Linked DNA regions of Homo sapiens: region 1 is linked to region 2. Evidence: promoter capture Hi-C in 16 types of primary human blood cells and fetal thymus (Javierre and others, 2016). All regions are on one chromosome and are shown on one strand. Each heading gives the region's core, a stretch centred on a gene start or on the middle of the fragment in contact. The rest is flanking DNA. Distances are from core to core; before and after follow the strand shown. Region 1 has its middle 100 kb from the start of LINC02998. Region 2 holds the start of GPX8 (glutathione peroxidase 8 (putative)).

Region 1 (5,312 bases), core at 2,369-4,868, 310 kb after region 2:
GAAAGTCACCTAGGATGCACTTAATGCCTCCAGCAACGAGTTGTCATGACACATGCAAAGTGTTGATACAAGGGAAGCTCATGAGATACTGAGTGCCCAGGATTTTTACTGGGAGCCAGTCAGGTAGACACCCTCTGCTTAGTATGTACCCAAATCCCTGGCCCCCAGAAGGAAGCAGGTGTCCAGCATAAATCACATTATTTATACAAGCAATTTAGACACAGCAAGCCTCCCTTATAATTTAGGGGAAGTTTTATATTAGCATGGGAAACTGTTTAATAGCCGAGTTCCCAGATACCAGTGCAGTGCCAACCTTCTGAGCAGGGCTTTCTCAGGACAGGCAACCTTCAGCCTGTGAGGTGAACTCTTTTCTGAGTAAAGGTGGGAAGCTGGGGGAGGGTGATTAGACTGGGAAGTGAGGAGCCATAGGCATGTTAGAGGGAAGAGCACTCGAGGCAGAAGAATGATTAAGGGCAAAGACAGTGAGTCTGGAGCGTGTTTGACGACATGGAAAGCTCATGTGACTGGAGCAGATGGAGGGAGGAGGAGAGTGAATAGATATCTCTCCATGGTGAGAGTTGATTTCTGGGCATAAGGACCCCCCAGCGCCAGACAGTTTTGTTCCACAGGCCTTTCAGAGATAATGACAGGGAAGCAGGCCAGCACTTATTGACCCCCTGCTAAGACTCAGGCTCAGTTCTAAAAGTATCACATAAATGATTAAATGATTTCTCGTTTAATTCTCTCAATGACTCTTGAAATAAAATGAAGACTGCAACAGACTTGGGGCACAGAAAGGTTAAGTTACTTGACCAAAGTCATATGGTTAGAAGAGCGGGCGGGTCTTGTGGCCAGGATGTCTTTGCCCAGAGCCCCCACTTGCAACCTGTGGCGTGGGCTGTGAAATTAATTGAGTCAGAACCAATTTTTTAAAAAATTAAATAGAATGGGTAGTATCAGAATGTGTTGTGTATAATGAGGGTAAATATTGTTTTTTGTGAAAATTTTGCTTCATATATATAGAGTTTTAAACACACACACATAAGAATATATATATGCATACTAGGTTGCTTTGAAAAATGTATTCTTTAGTTTTGGTATTAATGAAAAAACATTGTAAGCTACTGACCTAGCAAAGCTAGATTCTTTTGTAGATATGAATCACACATTTTTTCATCACTCCACCTGTTTCTGGGATAATCTGGGATAATAATGTTTATGGGATTGAGTCAAGTCCCAGAAGTTCATCTACTAGAACTTCTATCCACCAGGACACTAGAAACTGGTACTATAGAGTAGTGCTAGAGTTGACACAGCCTATAACAAGCCCCAAGTCCCGCTTTATCAGGATACATTACCACACGTAAGAGGGCTCTGTGTTCTAGGTGGGGAGTCAGGTTTGTTGCCCTCAGCTTTGAAGTCTCCTTGTGACTCCTCAAGGTCCCAGCCCTGCCTGCTGGTTAACCCTGACTGCCCTTGACCCTGCGCCTCTGCCTTGTTCGTTTCAGCAGGAAAGGAGGTTGGGATGGAAGTACCAGCCACACTGTCTGCAAACCTGACTGATCCACTTTATATACTGCTGTTGTGGCCCAAAGTTATGAAGGAAGAAAAATAACACATTATGAAATTTTAAATATTCCAAGAAAAAGGGATGTAGATTAGGGTGTATAATCACAGTGTTGCTTTCCTTGTGTCTACAGTATAATGTGAATGAAATTGCTGTCAGGATTTTAGAATGATGAAGTCTTGTGCACTGAAATTTTATGATTTAATCACAATGGCTATTAACAATGTCAACATAATTTAGACTTGATGAAAAAGAGCCAAGAGGCATCCAGGAATTGGCCTTGCTGATTTTGATAGCCTGTGTAGGCAATTTATGACATTTAAGACATCCTTTTATTATTATTATTATTATTATTATTATTATACTTTAAGTTTTAGGGTACATGTGCACAATGTGCAGGTTAGTTACATATGTATACATGTGCCATGCTGGTGCGCTGCACCCACTAACTCGTCATCTAGCATTAGGTATATCTCCCAATGCTATCCCTCCCCCCTACCCCCACTCCACAACAGTCCCCAGAGTGTGATGTTCCCCTTCCTTTGTCCATGTGTTCTCACTGTTCAATTCCCACCTATGAGTGAGAATATGCGGTGTTTGGTTTTTTGTTCTTGCGATAGTTTACTGAGAATGATGATTTCCAATTTCATCCATGTCCCTACAAAGGACATGAACTCATCATTTTTTATGGCTGCATGGTATCCCATGGTGTATATGTGCCACATTTTCTTAATCCAGTCTATCATTGTTGGACATTTGGGTTGGTTCCAAGTCTTTGCTATTGTGAATAGTGCCGCAATAAACATACGTGCGCATGTGTCTTTATAGCAGCAAGATTTATAGTCCTTTGGATATATACCCAGTAATGGGATGGCTGGGTCAAATGGTATTTCTAGTTCTAGATCCTTGAGGAATGCTCACCATCACTGGCCATCAGAGAAATGCAAATCAAAACCACAATGAGATACCATCTCACACCAGTTAGAATGGCGATCATTAAAAAGTCAGGAAACAACAGGTGCTGGAGAGGATGTGGAGAAATAGGAACACTTTTACACTGTTGGTGGGACTGTAAACTAGTTCAACCATTGTGGAAGTCAGTGTGGCGATTCCTTAAAACATCCTTTTAATATCTGCCCCTCATTTTTTATTGGAGTGTGGTATCTCTTTTATCCACTAGAATGTGTAATAACAATGGCAAATGAGCATAGAAACTTTCTGGAAAGACTGTGTGTATTGATCAATTGCAGAGTGTTCTCATAAATTGATAACCTTTAACATTATTAAATAATTTTCACACATCAGGTGTGTTTACTTTTTTGTGAAAGCTAATAGATATAGCATATGCATTTTATCAACATAGTAGAGCCACGAGAATGCAGTTTTCAATAACATAGTTTCTCCAAAGCTATGGTTACCAGTTACTTCTTTCCAGGCAAAGTTTTAAACTTAGGAGATTATTTCAGATGATGATGTTTCTTATTTCTATATTTCAGAGCATATCAAACAGTAATAATAACAACCATTTACATGGTCCATTACATGGTCCTAATGATAGTTATTACTTACATAGTACTTACAGTGCCTGGCATTGTTCTATGCGCTTTACATTTACCCAGTGAATCTTCAACAACTCTCTGGGATATGATTTTTATTTTAAAGATGAGAAATCTGCAATGCAGAGAGGCTTTGACACTTCTCCAAGGTCCAAAGCAGAAGGGCTGCTGGTGGACAGCAAGTGGCAGAGCTAGAATGCGAGTTTGAGTTTGGCACCACAGTGTTCTCTCACTTCTTCCTTCATAGTTAGCGAAGAAGCTCAAGGACCTGGTGAAGCAGATAAAGAGAGTATTGCTCTTATTCCAATTTTAAGAAGGTGGAATTAAAGATCAAGAGGTTAAGCGATTTGCCCAAAATAACAAAGTTAGTGGCAGAGTCTGGGGCAAAGGCAGTTATGCAAATGCAAATGTGATAAAGTCTTCAGATTCAGTGCTGTTTCTGACTTTTCAAACAGCATGTTCTCAAGACATTCGGATTATCCTGCATGATGACTCACTCTCCCTACTTGTCATCTGGGCCTGGAGGAGGTGGCAAGAAAGTCTGTCTGCAGCCTAAGTGGGAGAAGAAGGTGGGAGCGTGGGGGATAGAGTTGCTGATAACATCTCAGACTCTGGAGGGAGTTCATAGCCAGCAATCAGAATGTTAACCTCTGTGTCCCACCATTTAAAACACACTTCTTTCTCCTGACAAATTAAAACATTTCCTTAAGCCACAGTTCTTTCAGCTGATCTCCAAGGTCATTCAATGGTACAAGAGATCATTTGTGTCCCAACAAACTGGAATTGGGAATTGGAGTTAGGCCATCTTGGGTGAATCCTTTGCATTTTACTTTGAAATATATTCTACTGAGTATTTTTGTATTCAAATATGATCAGTGAATTTTGTGCATATCTGATAAAACATATTTTTGTCCACAAGGGGGCTTCATTTTCCTATTTTTCAAGTTCCTCTTTCAGTAATACTATACATTTTGTTTTGTTGTTTTTATACTGAAAATAGAACCATTTGCTTGCTTTTGAGAAATACTTGTCATCACTAAAAGGAGCTTTGAGAGCTGGTCACAGTAGAAGAATTAAGGCAGCAAAGTTTGAAATGCCAATTGAAGCTCTCGGGGGACCAACAGTGGGAGAGTGAATTCATGAGCATTTCACATCCCTCGTATGAAACGCAACAAAGGTCTAGGCTTTGTTGTTTTTGTTTGTTTGTTTGTTTGTTTGTTTTTGAGACGAAGTCTTGCTCTGTCACCCAGGCTGAAGTGCAGTGGCACGATCTCGGCTCACTGCAACCTCTGCCTCCAAAGGTCTGGGCTTTTAAATATTAAGTTTACAACTAGGATTAAATGGGATCACAATTAGGTTTCTAAATACCACTAAACTCTTCTTAAAGCTAAAGGTCAATTTAAAAATTATTATTCCAGGTTTGTGTTATTTTCTGATATTTATGCTTTGAACTATTCTTTTTTGGGCTTTGGATCACTTTAAAATCTGAATTCAAATTGGGGGTCTTTGTTTTCCTTCTCCTCATCTGCCTGAAGTTTCCATTACCAAGCACTGGGCACTAAATCAGGCCTTACCTGAAGCAATGGGGTCGTTAATTGAACTAAATTTGGTTTGAGTGGAAATGAGACCTGAGGCTACTAGATCTTGTTTTGAGTGGCAGGTTTTCCATTTGTTTTGGAAGATGGTATATTTCAGAGGCGAGAGGGAGGGAAAGCAGTGTTCCATAGCAGAGTAGCTGCAGTGGAAAACATGCTTTGTCCAGCCTTGGTGTGTATGGCCTTGGAAAAAATGATTGTTTCTACAAGTCACGAGAAGAGAAATGGCAGCACATTTCCAAGTCAGCTGGAGCTCTAGAAGAAATGAGGATGAGATATGTGGATGGATTAAAAAATGTAAAAAGTGAAAAACCAGAATGAGTGGGCTTGGAATTTTGTTAAACAGTCCAACTTGCGCATTTTATTATAGCCTTTCTGTGGGTTTAAATGAAGGCCAAAACCTTATTATTTGAACGTTGTATTGATTCGCATTTCTGGTAGCTATTTAAAAGCTGATGTCCTTAGAGCTTAGTGCTGCAAAATCTTCAGTAGGCATATTCAAATGGCAAGATATAGGCATGTCCATCAACAACACAATTATTAAACAGATAAACTATTCACCCCAAGTTATGAAAGAATGCTGGAAGATTAAAC
Region 2 (5,398 bases), core at 1,984-4,483:
CTCCCAAAGTGAATAATCACCTTATTTTGAAAAGCAATAACTTTTTTTTTGGCAGGGTCTCGCTGTGTTGCCCGGGATGGGCTTGAACTCCTGGGCACTAAAGTGATCCTCCTGTCTTGGCCTCCCAAAGTGCTGGGATTACATGCATGAGCTACCATGCCCAGCCATGATATCCTTTTGATAAATCTTAATTTATGTAAGAAATGTAGATTTTTTTTCTATTTATACCACTCAAGATTTATGTTCATTTTATTGACTAACATGAGGAAAAATATAATAATTATAACTAAAATTTATGAAGTGCTTACTATGTGCCAGATTAATGTACGCTCCGTGCTTCAAATTGATCCTCTCTTTTAATCTTACAGGGACCCTATGAGGTGGGTATTATTATCATCCCCGTTTTGCAGATGAGATAAATGGAAGCCTAGACACAAGGTCACGTGGCTAATGAGTGGTTGAGCCAGGATTGATATACGGGCCTTTTACTCCAGAGCTCATGCTCTTAACCTTTGGGCTCTATGATCCTTCCTATCTAAGTGGAATGACACCTTAACTCACTGTTACCTTTTTGATTACACAGGCTAAGAAGGGTTTTAGAAGGTTTGTAGTGATAAAGAGAAATAACCTATGAGCTATTGCACCCACGTATCTGGCTGCTGTAACTGAAGAATGATTAGTTCAATGGCATGTGCTTGGGCTTTTCTTTCCTCAGTGGACCTTCAAAATAAGAGGAATAAAGACCTCACTGTGGTTGCCATTTATGGCGTTAGGCATTATATCAACTTTCCCTAGAAATTAAATATAATGTTTTTAGAAGATTCTGACTTCACATTTATGTGAAATATTATAGATCACTATTTGGTTTGTTGGATTAGAAGCTTGATTGCCTGAGTGAGGTAATAGTTTGATCAAAACTCAACTTATTTACAGTGAAAATAGGACTGAAGATGTCATCAGAATAAGTTAGATGAGAGAACATTAGCTAATGTCCTTTATTTATTTATTTAAGATGCAGGCTTGCTCTGTCGCCCAGGCTGGAGTGCAGTAGCGCGATTTCAGCTCACTGCAACCTCTGCCTCTGGGTTCAAGCGATTCTCCTGCCTCAGCCTCCTGAATAGCTGGGATTACAGGTGCCCACCACCACACCTGGCTAATTTTTGTACTATTAATAGAGATGGGGTTTCACCATATTGGCCAGGCTAGTCTCTAACTCCTGACCTTAAGTGATCTGCCTGCCTCGGCCTCCTAAAGTGCTGGGATTACAGGCGTGAGCCACCGCGCCCGGCCTTTTTTTTTTTTTTTTTTTTTTTGACTAATATGGTTTAGAACAGTGTCTGGCACAGAGCAAGCAGTGTATAAGTACTTTATTTTTACTATTAACAGACTTAATTCCAAACAATCTTAAGAAGGCGGTACTATTGATAGCCCATTTTACAAATGAGAAACAGGCACAGAGAAGTTAAGAAGCCACATAGCAAAAACAAAAGAGCAGGGGTTTGAACCCAGGTAGCTTGAGGCCAAAGCCTATGCTGTCTGTATGCCTCATGACCTTTGTGCTAAGTGACCTTGGCAAGTCTTTAAACAGATTTCTGTAGCTAGCTTAATTGGAGAAATAGCCTAACACTACTGCCCTCTGAAAAAACCAAGTTATATGTTTTTGGATTTTAGCAAAAATCTGGTAAGCTGACATATTCATCTTTGAGAATATTGTTTCAGATAAGAAAGACAACATAAAATTAGCCACAAACATATGTTAACTAATAATGCCCAGCACTATTCATGAGAGCTGTGTGGCTATAATGACGGGAAGGGACATTTCTCCAGATGCTAGTTACAAGAGAGGAGAATTAAGATATTTTGTGAAAATAGCCATGGGCACACTTTAAGTAAATTCTTCAGGAAGATGGTAATAAGGAATAAAATATATTGGAATAGAATTCTTTTACCATCTAAGAAGCTAAAACATTGATTTCAGGGGAGCATAACTCCTAGAAGTTACAAAGGATGAGATTCTGGCTCTTTGATGATAGTTTTATGAAGCTTTCCCGATACAACGTTTCAAATGAAATAGGAAAGTATTGTCCTGGTATAATTGTTTAAAAATGAAAAGCAATTTAAAACAGCATATGCAAGGCAGATATTTACCAACAAGAAATCTAAATGCAGGTTCTCCTTCAGATCCTAGAATCTTAATCTTGTGGAAGATGGGGAAAGTTACTCCGTAGTTTTTTCTTGCAAAAGATTCTACTTCCTTGCTTGGGCGGGGCTCCGATTCTCCAAACTGATTGCAGGGAAAAGCCAACACGCTGAAGTGGGATGGTCCAAACTCTTTGTGCAGTTCCTTCAGCCCTAAGTAATTTCTGTCTGTGAGTTGGCAGTCACTGGCCACGTTTACAACTAGTGAAACCTCCCGGAAAAAGAAAAAAATCCAACCGGAAAGTGAAGCAAAAGATTTTAAAAAATTCTGCAAGTAGTTAAAATCCTAAACAATTTGGGGGGGACTATAACCTCTGATTGATGTTTTTTTCATATTTTTGGACATACACAGTTCTATTGAAAACTGTAACCTAGATGCCTGGGTTAAGGCCCTGAAATAGTACTGCCATTAAAAAAGCATTAGATACTCATGAAAGTTTATTTTTAAATTAAAGATAAAACTATGATCCTTGATAAGTTCTTTTTAAAGTTATTAGATTATAGAACCAATACTTTTATTAATAAATGTCATCATGTTCACATTACTAACTATAAGTATTTTCCAAACAACTTTACATGTCAATTCAGCACAAAATTAAAGCATTTTAAAGAAAACGAGATAATCGGAATTTATTATTTAGAAGCAAACTATCAGAACTGTAATAACTAAAGTGATGTACTAATACCATTACTCTGAAGACTAAATTCCAACTTATGACCATGTAACAGCAAAAAATTGATTTTATTAAGAGGAATAAACAGAGACAAGGAAAAATGATAACAATAAAAATCAGATGATGCAACTTACTTTGCCTTTATACTTTTCCAGAGAAACAGTTCTTCCTTTTGCATCCTTCACTTCAAAGGCATAAAAGCTGTTGATTTTAGGTTTGAGGAATTTTAGTTGTAGAAGAAATAGCGTTACTGTGCATAGAACTATAGACAGCAAAACTGCAAATACCTTTGCTCTGGGCCCGGAACATTTTAGCGGGTAAGCTGCAAGAGGCTCCATGTTGGAGGATTCTAGAGGGAAGTCTCAGCAGCCTGGAATTCAAGGAGGAGCTGAAACTTGAAACCGGCTTAGTTTAACGGAAAACCAGGAAGGACAGGCTGACTGCTTTCACTGCTAAGGAACAGAAAGACCACTTCTCAGAGGGGAAATGAAGCGAAACTCCTGAATGAAGCAAGGAGCTCTACAGAATTTCAAAGTATTTGTGATGTAATTATAATTTTTGCTAGAAAAATCAGGACATTTTTGGTAGGTCTTTGACATTCTCCCTACAAAGAAAATATTTCGCCAGAAGATGGTGCTCTTGTAACTCGAAAGCTACGGAGGGCTCATTCCCCATGCTAAGCTGTGTATTTATTGAGCAACTGTTTGGATGCAGAGGATGGAGTACGATGCTCAGCAATAGTTTAGAATGTAGATTAAATGTGACCTACTCATATGGTGTATACCCTGAAGGACGTTACTATTACATGTATGGGTTAAACATGCTATATGAGTTCAGGAAATTTATAGTGGAAAGAGCAGGGAAATATCTGAAAAAGGCTATTTACCCTGATTCATCTAGCTAAGGCAATCAAATACCAAGTGAATACAGTCAAAATAAATATGTTAAAAACAGTGAAGGTGTTAAAAGAAACCCTTCTCTATCATAGAGCAAACTATAGTCCAGTGTTTTTCAAATTTCTACTCATGACCCCCAGTCAGCAGTGCACTTTACAACATAACTGGGTACAAACAACACACAACTGAGAAACAACACTTCTCCTTTGAACTGTGATGCACCCCCACCTGTTGCATTTTTAAACAACCCAGTTCTGACCTATCAAAATGATTTCATCATTCACCGATGCACTACAACCTGTAGATGGAAAAAACTGAGGCCGGGCATGGTGGCTCACGCCTGTAATCCCAGCACTTTGGGAGGCCTAGATGGGAGGATCACTTGAGCCCATGAGTTCAAGACCAACTTGGGCAAGAAAGCGATACCCCTGTCTCTAAAAAAGAATTTTAATTAGCTGGTTGTGGTGGTGCATGGCTGTGGTCCCAGTTATACAGGTGGCAAAGGTGGGAGGATCGCTTGATCCCAGGAGGTTGAGGCTGCAGTGAGTCGTGTTTGTAGACTGCAGCCTGGGTGACAGAGTGAGACTATCTTAAAATCAGAACAAAAGAAGAAGAGGGAAAAAAGCAAAAATTGAACTCGATAATAAAGTAGTAATTTAACAGTTAAATAAGGCAATTCTACCAAAAAAAATCCCTGAAAACAAACAAACCCTGCAAAACCCACCTCTACTTGGGCACGTCATCTAATTGCTTCGTTTTTTCTCTTTATTTCCCTCCCCTGGCTGTTGCCTGGCACAGGGGGCCTAACTTTGCTGTTGCTAACGGTCATGAATTTTAGGGGTAGGTATGGGGAGGCAATTGAGGGCTGTATATCCTAAAAGCCATTCACTTTCAATTCTGCTCTGTTTAAGACTCATGGCAAGATCTGGATGAAGGGGCATTATGCCATTTGATCATGATGTGTTTCCAGAAAGTGCAGGGAATGAGCTGAGATGTTTGTGGAGTGCCCTTCCTGTCACTGTTAGCTTGTGGAGCTTCAGAGAGGGTGCTCAGGGTGCTGCCTGCTCTTCTGGTTCCCGCTCTGTGGCATGTGTGTTTTCGGGTGGCTGAGCAAAGCCCATAGCCTACTGTGTAAAACTTGTGAGAGGAACCGCTCGACTCCTACTCTCATGGCTCAGTAAGAATGGATACAGTAGAAAAAGCAATGATTATGCAGAAAGTATTCCCTTTTAAACATAATTCCTAGTAAAGAACAAAAATGTATGTAAGATGTGTTGTATCACTTCCTGATAATTTTACTTTGGTGTTCTCTGGCTGAATTGTTTAAAAAGTCAAAGTCCCTGTGTTTATATGACATGAACACTGCTATGTTGCTTAAGCTCTCTGGCCTTGCTCTCTAAGTGGGATCTGGGACCTTCCACAGTACCATCACCTGGGCATTTGTTAGAAACACAGCATTTTGGGCCCCACCCCAGACTTCCCGAGTCAGAATCTGTACTTTTACAGGATCTCCTCATGACACATACACACGTTTAAGTTTGAGAACCTTTAGACCTCAAACTTTTTTTGGTTTCAGAGCAACAAGAGTCTTTGGTTTGTCTTTGTTTTCCATAGTGGATGTGTTCATGT

The links. The method cuts DNA at HindIII sites, captures the fragments that hold promoters and counts their contacts. A CHiCAGO score of 5 or more calls a contact.
Region 1: a contact is called between a fragment that was not itself captured here and the fragment with the promoter of GPX8 in region 2, in 3 of 17 cell types (total CD4 T cells, naive CD8 T cells and naive CD4 T cells). The highest score is 6.2, in total CD4 T cells.

What each region holds. Positions count from the first base shown.
Region 1 is chr5:54,844,062-54,849,373 of GRCh38, reverse strand. It overlaps the pseudogene CSPG4BP. Among named protein-coding and RNA genes, the nearest start is that of LINC02998, 100 kb to the right of the region's middle. The HindIII fragment of the contact is 9,684 bases long and covers 1-5,312 here.
Region 2 is chr5:55,158,006-55,163,403 of GRCh38, reverse strand. It overlaps GPX8 (glutathione peroxidase 8 (putative)), which reads right to left and starts at 3,233. Exons shown (of 3, transcript NM_001008397.4): 1 at 3,008-3,233; 2 at 2,149-2,410. The coding sequence starts at 3,211. All of the region lies in intron 2 of CDC20B (cell division cycle 20B), which reads left to right. The HindIII fragment of the contact is 5,226 bases long and covers 2,046-5,398 here.